2 separate regions of the Homo sapiens genome follow, and region 1 is linked to region 2. The links are contacts of gene promoters, found by promoter capture Hi-C in human tissues and cell types (Jung and others, 2019). All regions are on one chromosome and are shown on one strand. Each heading gives the region's core, a stretch centred on a gene start or on the middle of the fragment in contact. The rest is flanking DNA. Distances are from core to core; before and after follow the strand shown.

Region 1 (5,786 bases), core at 17-2,516, 680 kb after region 2:
TTCTTATATTTTCTTGGAGAGAAGTGATATCCCAGTACTCAAAATGGATGTTCACTTTGCAGAGAGCTATTGAGTTTCAGTGCTAGGACCTCTAAGAGTGTGTTGAGTGACTGTGTATTACACTGTATTTTCTAGAATCTCTACATTATGGGTCAAGTTTTTAACTGCCCACTTCCCCACCCACACCTACCCCAATCTGCCTTCTCACATTTTCTTCTCCAGAAGGTTACTTGCCTCCTTTTCCTCCTCCTGGTAACATGTATAACCATGTTCTTGTTGCTTCATAAAATTTAAAAGTTCAGTTTTTCTGCTGAATTAAACACACCTATTCTATCCAACTGCCCAAACTGCTGATACTTTAGATATTTTGTGAGGTTTTATTCAGCTATAATTTAGGGTGAGATAATTCTGGTAAAATGATTTTAAATGTCTTTTTAGATAGTAAACTATAGTATGTAACATCAAGATATCTAATTTATATTATTGAGTTATATGCAGGGTGAGTATCCCTAATCGAAAAACCCAAAATCTGAATGCTCCAAAATCTGAAACTTTTTGAGCATTGACATGACACTCAAAGGAAATGCTCACTGGAGCATTTCAGATTTTAGATTTGTGGATTAAGGATGCTTAACCTGTAAGTATAATGCACATTCCCAAATCTGAGAAAATCTGAGATCCAAAATACTTTTGGTTCCAAGCATTTCAGATAAGGGATACTCAACCTACATTTTTTACTCTCTGTTGTACATCACATTTAAAATTAATAAATTTTTGGCCAGGTGCAGTGGCTCATGCCTGTAATCCCAGCACTTTGGGAGGCCAGGGTGGGTGGATCACCTGAGGTCAGGAGTTCGAGACCAGCCTGGCCAACATGGTGAAACCCTGTCTCTACTAAAAATACAAAAGTTAGCTGGGCCTGGTGGCACATGCCTGTAGTCCCAGCTACTCGGGAGGCTGAGGCAGGAGAATCGCTTGAACCTGGGAGGCAGGGGTTGCAGTGAGCAGAGATCTCACCACTGCATTCCAGCCTGGGCGACAAAGCGAGACCCCACCTCAAAAAAATAAAATTAAAAAAAATAAACTTAATGCATTTCTTCATCCATAGGGCTTATTCCAACTTAGTAAATATTTATCAAGGCCATACTAAGGGCTATGTACTGATAGACATTTCCCATACATTTTCTTCTTTTGTGCCCAGCGTAAGCTTAAGGGGCTGTGGCAGTACTACGCTCCATAGGTGAGGAAGCTGAAGCTAAGAGAGGGTGAGTAACTTCTCTCCATCAGAAAGGACCAGAAATAGAATTCCTTTTCATACACTTCAATATAAAAGGAAGTCACATGCTCCGTTTACTTGACACATTCAGTTGTTTATGACCTCTCTGTGTCTTTGTATCTTGTGTTTGTTTCATTGGTCATAGGTAGCCAAGACTACTGCTCTCCTCTTGTCTTGATGTTGTTAGGTTTTGGGTTCTGAGTGAGTAGCTATTAGATGCTGCCTGGTAGATGGCTCAGAGTCCAGAGGAGGATGGTCACCTGGAAGCGAGGTGGTGTGGAGACCCTCGGGACAGGCAAGATGAAGCTGACATCACAGCCAGCCTCACAGAAATGAGGTAGTAGAAGCCTGGAAAAGGGATGTGGGCAGATGGCCAGAGTGGATGTATGTAAGGCTTACTCTCCTAGGATTTCTATACAACTTTGAGTAGATTTCATTTCACCAGTGGCTGCTGTTTTCCTTACCTAGCTATTAGGGCCAAGAACTGACCAGACCATTTTAGGGGATTGCTGTGAAGATCAAATGTAGTTGTGTGTGTAGGCTTGTTTAAGCCTTTGGAAGCTGTAAGGTGCTCTGTAAATAAGACGTGGTTATGATGGGGCTATCTCAGAAATGTCAAAAAAAGAATTTGTCACCATTTGTATTTTAAAATTTTAGTGGTGTATTAGTTAATGAGATAGAGAAATTAATGCATAATTGCTATCATGCTGATGATCTTATAGTAAAGGCAAGTATTGTAACCTTTGAATTATCTCCAAGATCATAACACAGGAGTGGAAACATTCAGAGAATGCCCAAACTAAAAGTTGGGGTTTAGATGGAAGCCTACAAAGGCCTGAAGCGCTAATGCTGTTTCTTTGCAAATCTGGAACACTGAAACCAGCAATCCTGTTTTTAATTTATTTGAGGGCACGTGGGATGCAAATATCATAGGCTCCAAAAAGATTCCAAAAACATTCCATTCATTTATACTAATTGATTTCATAGCTTTTATAATATACACCATGCTAATATATTCTAACAATTTAAATTTATGCTCACTTAAGAAACCTTATTGATGTTTGGAAATAACATAGACACTTGTCATGTGGAAACCTCATTGCTTTTATCATAATTCTTTTTAAAGAGGGCCAAAGCAGGAGGAGGTAAATTGTTTTCCTCTTTATTTTTTTTAGTGAAAATTATAGAGATGAACAAAAATTAAAGTTTCTAGTAAACTTTAAAGTATAATGCCTGAGATTTGGTTTAATAGGTGAGAGAGCAAGACTGCGTAAGTGTTGGCGGGACCTCTCATATCATAGGACGGTCTTATTTACATAATACGAATAACAGCTAACATTTGGGTACTTACTATGTGCAAGACACCACTTGAATTCATAATCACACTTGATCTTCTCAATGATATCGTGAGATAGGAACAATTGTATTTTTATTCAGCATCGTACAGTTGGGGTAATTGAGGCACTAGTTAAATAAGTCATCTGAAGTGACCTTGCTCCTCCCATTGCAGATTTGAATTCAGGTGGTTAAGATTCAAGAGGGAGTGCCCTTAACCCCTAAGCTGTGAGTGCCTGCTGTTCCCAAAGAAGCAGAACTTCACCCTCTCTCAGCTCTTGGCCCTGATAGACTCTGAGACATCAATTTTAGAGAGCATCAACTCTTTATGCTCATTTTTTTTTAAACAAATGTGCTGCTCACACCACACATCAGCAAGTGTAACACGATGATGATCATCCTAAACAGGAGGTCAGAATATCTGCTAGTACTCGCTGTATCCAACTGGAACCACATCTTTAATGACATTTTCTAATTTAATTCTTGTTTTTCTACTCGATTTTTTATTTAGAACAAATTTCAGATATACAAAAAATGAAACAAATAGTAAAATGAACCTCACATGCCTTCCACCCAGATTCAGCAATGCCAAATTTGCTTTTCCCCCAAATTTTCTCTTTCCTTCCTCTTCCTCTCTATATGCAAACATACTTCCCCTCTTCCTTCCCATTTTCTTCCCTCCCCTTTTGAAACTAAGTTGCATGCTTCCTGAGACTTCTAAACACTCTGTAAGCCTATTCTGACAATTAGAACATTATTTTTATAATCCCAACATCTTTATCACAGCTAAGAAAATTTATAAGAATTTGTTCTTTATATCACCTAATATTCAGTTTATATTAAAATTTTCAGGATAGACCAACTGCCCCTAAACCCCCTCTGAACTAGGATCCAGCTAAAATTCATGGTTTGGATTTATTACTTTTAATTTAGAAAAATCTTTCCACATTTTTTTCTAAACACCTCATTTAATTCTGACACTGTATGCCTTGAAGAAGGCCCCACGAGTCCCATTTTGTAGAATTAGAAACTGAGGTCAGAGTGGTTAAGACATTCACCCAAGGTCACAGATCTGGTAAGTGACAGAACCAGTACAAGGTTTTGATCTTCTGGGTTTTAATTCCTCCTTTTTGGTGGCATCATAATAGATTGCAAGGCCAAGGAAGTGGTGACCACTGACAGTGTCATCGAAAACTGACTTTGAAAATATGGGTAATGAAAATAGCTGAAGATAATAATACGCACATTTCAACATAAGTTGCTCCTTTGGCAAAGGTTTATTTCTAATTAATATCATAAATGGGATCAAAATCCAGCCATCAGTGCCCAGCTATTCTTTCTTGCATTAAGTATAATATTAATAAGATTAATATGTCATTTCATTGCTGAGTAACCACAATGGAAGTGACTAAATTCAGAATTAATTTTCTCATAGATTCTACTATGTCTGAGTTTATTTTTCGATATCCACCTTTAAAACCATAGCCCCTTGCACAAAGCCATATGCCTTTAAAATAGAAATCCAGTTAATAGTCAACAATTTGATTTGGTATCCTAACAGGCCAGTTTTGCAAATGGTTTATAAACCTCGTAAGACCAATCAAAATTCCTCTTGTAGGTGCTCAGTAAACATATGTGCAGTGAATAAATGAACTTGTGGGTTGGCATTTTCATTAGTCCTATGTCATTTTCTAAAGTTATCCTTGACTCTTTCTAGGCCTTCTACCATCTACTGTGACTTCACTGCTCTACCAAGTTTGTGTAGTAATTTTCCTATAGCATACAATAATGTATCCTGCAGCATATAATAGCCTATAACATATAATAAATATATAGGAAATAAAGTAAATATATACTAGGTATAGTATTAGAATTTTTTCACATACAAAGAACAAAGAGGGAGGAGAAAAGAGAGGAAGATTTAAAAATTCACATTTAGGACCACTTTCATATATCTTAAGCTTTGGATATGACTGCTATTTTTATGTCTATTGAAATCCAAGTCAGAGTTTCCAAAACAATTTGTGAAAAACTTCCTCATTTATTGTGCCTTGTAGTTTCATTTATAAGTAATGAAAGTGGGACCTTTTATTTGCTATTTCTTTCTCTGGTTTTTGCAAGGGAATGATTGCATTTCTTTACATTATTGGATAAAAGCTAAATACATTACACTTTCAACAAACTATTTTATAATTTAAGATTGAAAGGTCATGCATTGTTTTTGAGCAGGCAGACCATTGCTGTAGAGTTGAAGTGTAGGTCAAGTTTCATTTTTAAATGCCTTTGGTCAGATATTTTCCTGCTAATTGGAGAAATGGTCTCTGAGGGCCAATTTTACCTTGTGGCTGGGAACCCTAGCTGGATTCAGAGTCCAGTGATATTATACAGAACAACCACTGCAAAAGGTCCCCTTCTCTTTTGCACAGCAGGTAGTGTCAAAATCTGCCCTCCACACATTTACTTAAAGATAATAGAGATGCCAAAAGAGTGAACATTTTGGTTAGGAATTGCATTATGTTCTATATTATTTAAATACATGAAAAAGCAGGGTTGTGTTTTGGACTGAATTAGTAACTTGGATATATGTAGACCCACACTAAACAGTAGCATTTCTTAAGCACATACTACTAACCTTGCTTAGTGTTTTCTCTTGATGAAGTGAGAAACATTGCTGCTTTTAAGAATTTGTGAGTTATAAAGAAGCCATATCTCTGGTTTCTGTACATACAATGTTTGGTAGCTGATTTATTTTTGAGACTTCTTTTAGGATTACTTTTGATAAACGTGATTTGTTCAACAACATTACAAGATGCAGGCATCCTCTATTCGGACATGAATGAAATGGTGTCCACCTGAAATCACTGTCTGTAACTCAGCTTCTTTTTCTCATCAGTTCTCAGTGTTTTTTTTTTTTTCAGTTATCCCAAATTTCATAAAGAGATGTAAAACTACACCTTAAAAATGAATTTCTGTATAGCTACTGGTCTTTATTTAAATATTGTGGCATAAACTCTATGTCTGACCTTTTAAAACGTATGATTACCTAGAATGTTAAAATTTTGCTATTTAAAAATTATTTTATCTTAAAATTTAAAAAGTGAAATGCTTTTCCTGTAAATTCATGGTTTCACTTAGTTCATAATTGGTGAAAAGGTGAGATCATATTTCTGACTGT
Region 2 (4,972 bases), core at 1,638-4,137:
CCCTAATCTCAGGTGATCTGCCAGACTCGGCCTCCCAAAGTGCTGGGATTACAGGTGTGAGCCACCCGGCCATTTCTCACAATCTTAAAGGGCAAGGACTGTCTTGACTATCCATCACTATGTCCCTAGGACATAGTAGAGCATAGGTTTTGGATTTCAAAGACCTGGGTTTGTATCCCCATCTTGTCATTTTTTAATTGGGGCCACTTGGACAACTTACAAAACCTGAGAGAACCCTTTCTATGACATGGGAAAAAGACCATATGCCTCATAAAGTTGTAAAGGCTTCAAAGAGATAAGGTATGCAGAGCATGGCTGGCACATAGTGAGCCCTCAATACGTTGTTTATAGTCAGAGGTAGGAACATGTGGAATGGAAACGACTTGGGGCATTCTTATACCAGATCAGCATTTTTAAAAGACAGAAAAACACAAAGAAAGGCACTGGTTCCCTTCGCCCCCTAAATGTTAAGAAAATCTGATGTCCATTCCCCTGAAAAATGCCCACAGAGAGAAAAAACGATTTCGGAGTTTCTAAGAATCCCTGATTGAGAAGTCCAATAAAAGCTTCCTTGAATTTGCTATGGCTTTTTAAAAAAATGCTGGCCAGGCAGGGTGGCTCACGCCTATAATCCCAGCACTAAGGAAGGCCGAGGGGAGGGGGGCGCAGATCAACTGAGGTCGGGAGTTCGAGACCAGCCTGACCAACATGGAGAAACCCCGTCTCTACTAAAAATACAAAAATTAGCCGGGTGTGGTGGCACATGCCTGCAATCCCAGCTATTCGGGAGGCTGAGGCAGGAGAATCGCTTGAACCCGGGAGGCGGAGGTTGCAGTGAGCTGAGATGGCGCCACCGCACTCCAGCCTGGTCAACGAGAGCGAAACTCCATCTAAAAAAAATTGCTGGCTGGGCACGGTGGCTCACGCCTGTAATCCCAGCATTTTGGGAGGCCGAGGTGGGCGGATCACGAGGTCAGGAGTTCGAGACCAGCCTGACCAACACGGTGAAACGCCGTCTCTACTAAAAATACAAAAATTAGCTGGGCATGGTGGCCTGCGCCTGTAATCCCAGCTACCCAGGAGGCTGAGGCAGAAGACTCGCATGAACCCGGGAGGGGGAGGTTGCAGTGAGCGGAGATCGTGTCATTGCACTCCCGCCTGGGCGACAGAGTGAGACACTGTGTCAAAAAAAAGAAAAAGTGCTTAAGCTTGGTCAAGTCACTCTGAAGCTATCGGGAGAAAAATGAAGTGGCCCTAAGGAAAACATAGCCAATAAACCCAAGGAAACAAACTAGTTAACAGTTGTCACTACAGAAAGAATCCCCCACATAGAAGGCATTTGGACGATCAATATGCAGTGGAAGGCCGGGCGCGGTGGCTCACGCCTGTAATCCCAGCACTTTGGGAGGCTGAGGCGGGCGGATCGCGAGGTCAAGAGATCGAGACCATCCTGGCTAACACGGTGAAACTCCATCTCTACGAAAAATACAAAAAGTAGCCAGGTGTGGCGGGGCGCACCTGTAATAGAGCTACTCGGGAGGCTGAGGCTGCAGAATCACTTGAACCTGGGAGGCAGAGGTTGCAGTGAGCCGAGATGGCACCACTGCACTGCAGCCTGGGCGACCGAGCGAGACTCCGTCTCAAAACAACAACAACAAAACCCCAAAAAATGTTTCAATACGGTAAACAATTATGCATCTTGCAAAGGTTCTTGGGGGAAGGCAAGCAACATACTTAAAATATTAAGCCTTAACTTTTCCTGGATAGCCATTAAGAATCAAACAATTTGGAAAAATTCCTCTACACCTACTGAAGACTGTTTCAAATACTACGACTGAATCTTTCCAGCCTTTTAACACCACGCTGACAAGTCGGTTTAATAAAACGTAACTCTCCCCCAACCCCCGCCCGCCACAACTAATTAGCACTTTCAAAAAGTACTCGTTTTTCTGGTTACAGGGAAACCTCATGCTTCTCTAGTCCTGCAGGATGGTGAGGAAGGTTTGAGAAGAAATGGAGCGTCCGTGCTGGCCAATTACTGCACAGAAATAACACTTTTCCTTTTTGTCCAGGGGTGGGGGAAGAATCAAGTTTGAGGTCTCCACAGTTGATAACGCTACAACGATGACTAACGGGCTTCGGAACCACAGGCGATGCCGACCCTCCTCTGCTAGCCTTGCTCCCATCCCTCCCCCGATCCCTCCCCTAAAGGAAGCCTCGTGGCAATTCGGGTGATGAAACACCAAGCAACCGCCGGCCACGCACTCGGGACGCGCTCCTCGGCGGCGGCCCCGGCTCGTACCCACCCCCACCCGGTCCGCCCAGCCAGGGGGTGCACCGCCATAGAGGGTCCCAAGCCTGCACCCTCCCTGGCGTCGGGACTCCCCCGGGCCGGTCCGCCCCGGCCAACTTCCTCGAAGCCTCACGCGGACCAAACCTGGTCCCGGTCCCGCTGCCCCCGAGCCCCGAGTCACCTTCCCTATCACTCCATCCCGCCTCCCAGCCTGCACTCCAGATGGTCAGCCAGCGGAGCGGAGCGGCGCGGCACGCAGAGAGCTGGGAGAGCGGCCCTCGTCCTTGTCGCCGTAGTCCTCCGCCACGGCCGCAGCTACAACGCCAGAGACGGTGCTGGCCGGGACCGCGCGCCTCTAGTCGCTCTGCGTCCCCTGGCACCTTCTCTTGCGTGGCGCCGGGCAGGCAGGCAGGCAGGCAAGCAAGCAAGCAAGCAAGCGGGCGGGGTCGGCGCCCCAGGAAGGGAAAGAGCGCGAGGGCCGGCTAACGCCGCCGCCGCCGCCGCAGCCGCCGCCGCCGCTGAGTCAGCGCGAAGCGCGCTCCCCGCGTCGGTGCCGCGCGGGCGGGCGCCGGCGCCAGCAGTCTCTTGGAGAGTGCGGGCGGCAGCCCGCGGGCTGACGCCGGAGGCCTACAACTCCCAGCATGCAGGGAGCGGCCGGCGCTTCCGGGCGGCGAGGCGCACACGCGCTCCCTGGCGCTCGCCGGAAGGCGTGGTCACCGGGGCTTGAGGTGCATGCCGGGATGAGGCATCCGGCCCAGGAGTCCCTACCCAGCTCCTAAATCCCCGGCTGTGTCTGCGTGGTGTCAGAGCTCAAGCGTCAGGTTCGCCCCGAGCATTCCACAAAGGGCTTCTAGTAGTTGAGAGTACGGATTCACGAATCAGGATGACGTGGTTCTAACCACGTGTGAGTCAATTTAATTGCTTGTCTACGGCCCCAAGTGTCCCGAGTACAGCAGTGTAAAGCTCTGATGAGTGCTGACAGGTTTTCAAAATTAATTAATTAATTTATTTATTTATTCTTTGAGACGGAGTCTCGCTCTGTCGCCCAGGATGGGGTGCAATGGCGAGATCTTGGCTCACTGCAACCTCCGCCTCCGGGGTTCAAGCAGTTCTCCTGCATCAGCCTCCTGAGTAGCTGGGATGACAGGCGCGCGCCACCATACCCAGCTAATTTTTGTATTTTTCGTAGAGACAGGGTTGCACCATGTTGGACAGGCTGATCTCGAACTCCTGACCTCAAGTGATCACCTGCCTCGGCCTCCCAAAGTACTGGGATTACAGGCGTGAGCCACGGTGTCCGGTCCAAAATTTATTTTAAACAGACTAAAATTTTGTCCATGAAAAGAAGGAGAGCATTCTTAGGAAGTCCTACTCACGGGATCTTTCGATGCTACTAAATGTCACTTCATTTATTTGGTCACAGATTTATTAATTTATTAATGCAACATAGAGGCAGTGTAGGCTTAGGCTGCCTCGACTTGACTGCCACTCCGCCTCCTCACTAGTTGACCTCAGGCACTTTACTTTAGTCTATCCATGCTTCAGTTTACTCGTATGTAAAATGGGGATTGTTAATAGTACCGACCTCAAAGGGTTTCTGTGAGGTTTGAGTTAATACATGTGTTTGACACACAATGTGCTCAATATTTACATTTCATTGTTGATTATTCAATGTGTACTAAATACAGACTAGGTTGCTGCCACAGACTACAAACAAAACTTGGAGAGGGAGGAATGGTAAGAGCATAGAATAAAACTAATGTTTTAACAGCTACCTTTATTTAGCTGTCCAAGACACTACACCAGGCATTTCCTATATAAAATACCTTGAATCACTCTTGCATCATGTTTCTAATTTATGTGTTTAAAATGTCAGGCTAGTGGCTACAAGATGTCGCTAAAGGAGAACTGGGTTTTAATTTTTTCTTGTTTTTAGAGAAAGGGTCTCGCTCTGTTACCCAGTCTGGAGTAGAGTGGTCATAGCTCACTGCAGCCTTGACCTCCTGGGCTCAAGCAATCCTCCTGCCTCAGCCGCCCAAGGAGCTGGGACTACGGGTGCATACCATCATACCTGGCTATTTTTGTTTGTTTTTGTAGAGATGGGGACTTGCTCTGTTGCCCAGGCTGATCTCTAACTCCCAGGCTCAAATGAACCTCCCACCTCAGCTTCCCAAAGTGTTGGAATTACGAGTGTGAGTCCCTGTGTCAGGCCTTAATTTTCTTCACGCTGCTCTCAGTTGGCTTCCCAACGAAATAGGTTCTTTGTTGTTCTGGCATACAAATTTTCTTTTGATTGTAATCCTTGCATGCATTATGTTTCTACTATTCAAATTATTAATTATTCAAATTAATTATAAACAAGAAGTATCTCTTGTTTTACTTCTGAGAAAACCAAAGTCATGGTATTCTCAAGACTAGAGATAATTCAACAAAGCCTGTGAATCTCCCTCATTTGGAATCTCTCTGGGCCCAATCTGTTTTCCACTGCTAGGGCGCTGCTGCTAAAGCTATATCATATGAAACCACCCTCCCTAAAAGCTCAGGGACCATCTCCAAATAGGAGGGCGAGTGAAACTGTAAGAGCTGGATTGATGGGTGGAATCTGGAAGCTAAAGTAACTCCATCTTTGGTACTAATCTGCCATGTTGGTTTCTGATTAACCCTGTTCCCGGAAGGCCT

Evidence for each region. Contacts are between HindIII fragments. The study calls those that stand out against the background at their distance.
Region 1: a fragment that was not itself captured here is called in contact with the fragment with the promoter of XPOT in region 2 in 1 of the 25 tissues and cell types used here (dorsolateral prefrontal cortex).

What each region holds. Positions count from the first base shown.
Region 1 is chr12:63,718,935-63,724,720 of GRCh38, reverse strand. It overlaps the pseudogene LOC100418730. Among named protein-coding and RNA genes, the nearest start is that of DPY19L2, 53 kb to the right of the region's middle. The HindIII fragment of the contact is 3,249 bases long and covers 1-2,890 here.
Region 2 is chr12:64,402,307-64,407,278 of GRCh38, reverse strand. XPOT (exportin for tRNA) reads right to left here and starts at 2,887. Exons shown (of 25, transcript NM_007235.6): 1 at 2,475-2,887. RefSeq lists enhancers at 1,289-2,165, 3,263-3,312 and silencers at 2,273-2,382, 2,713-2,872. The HindIII fragment of the contact is 11,570 bases long and covers 888-4,972 here.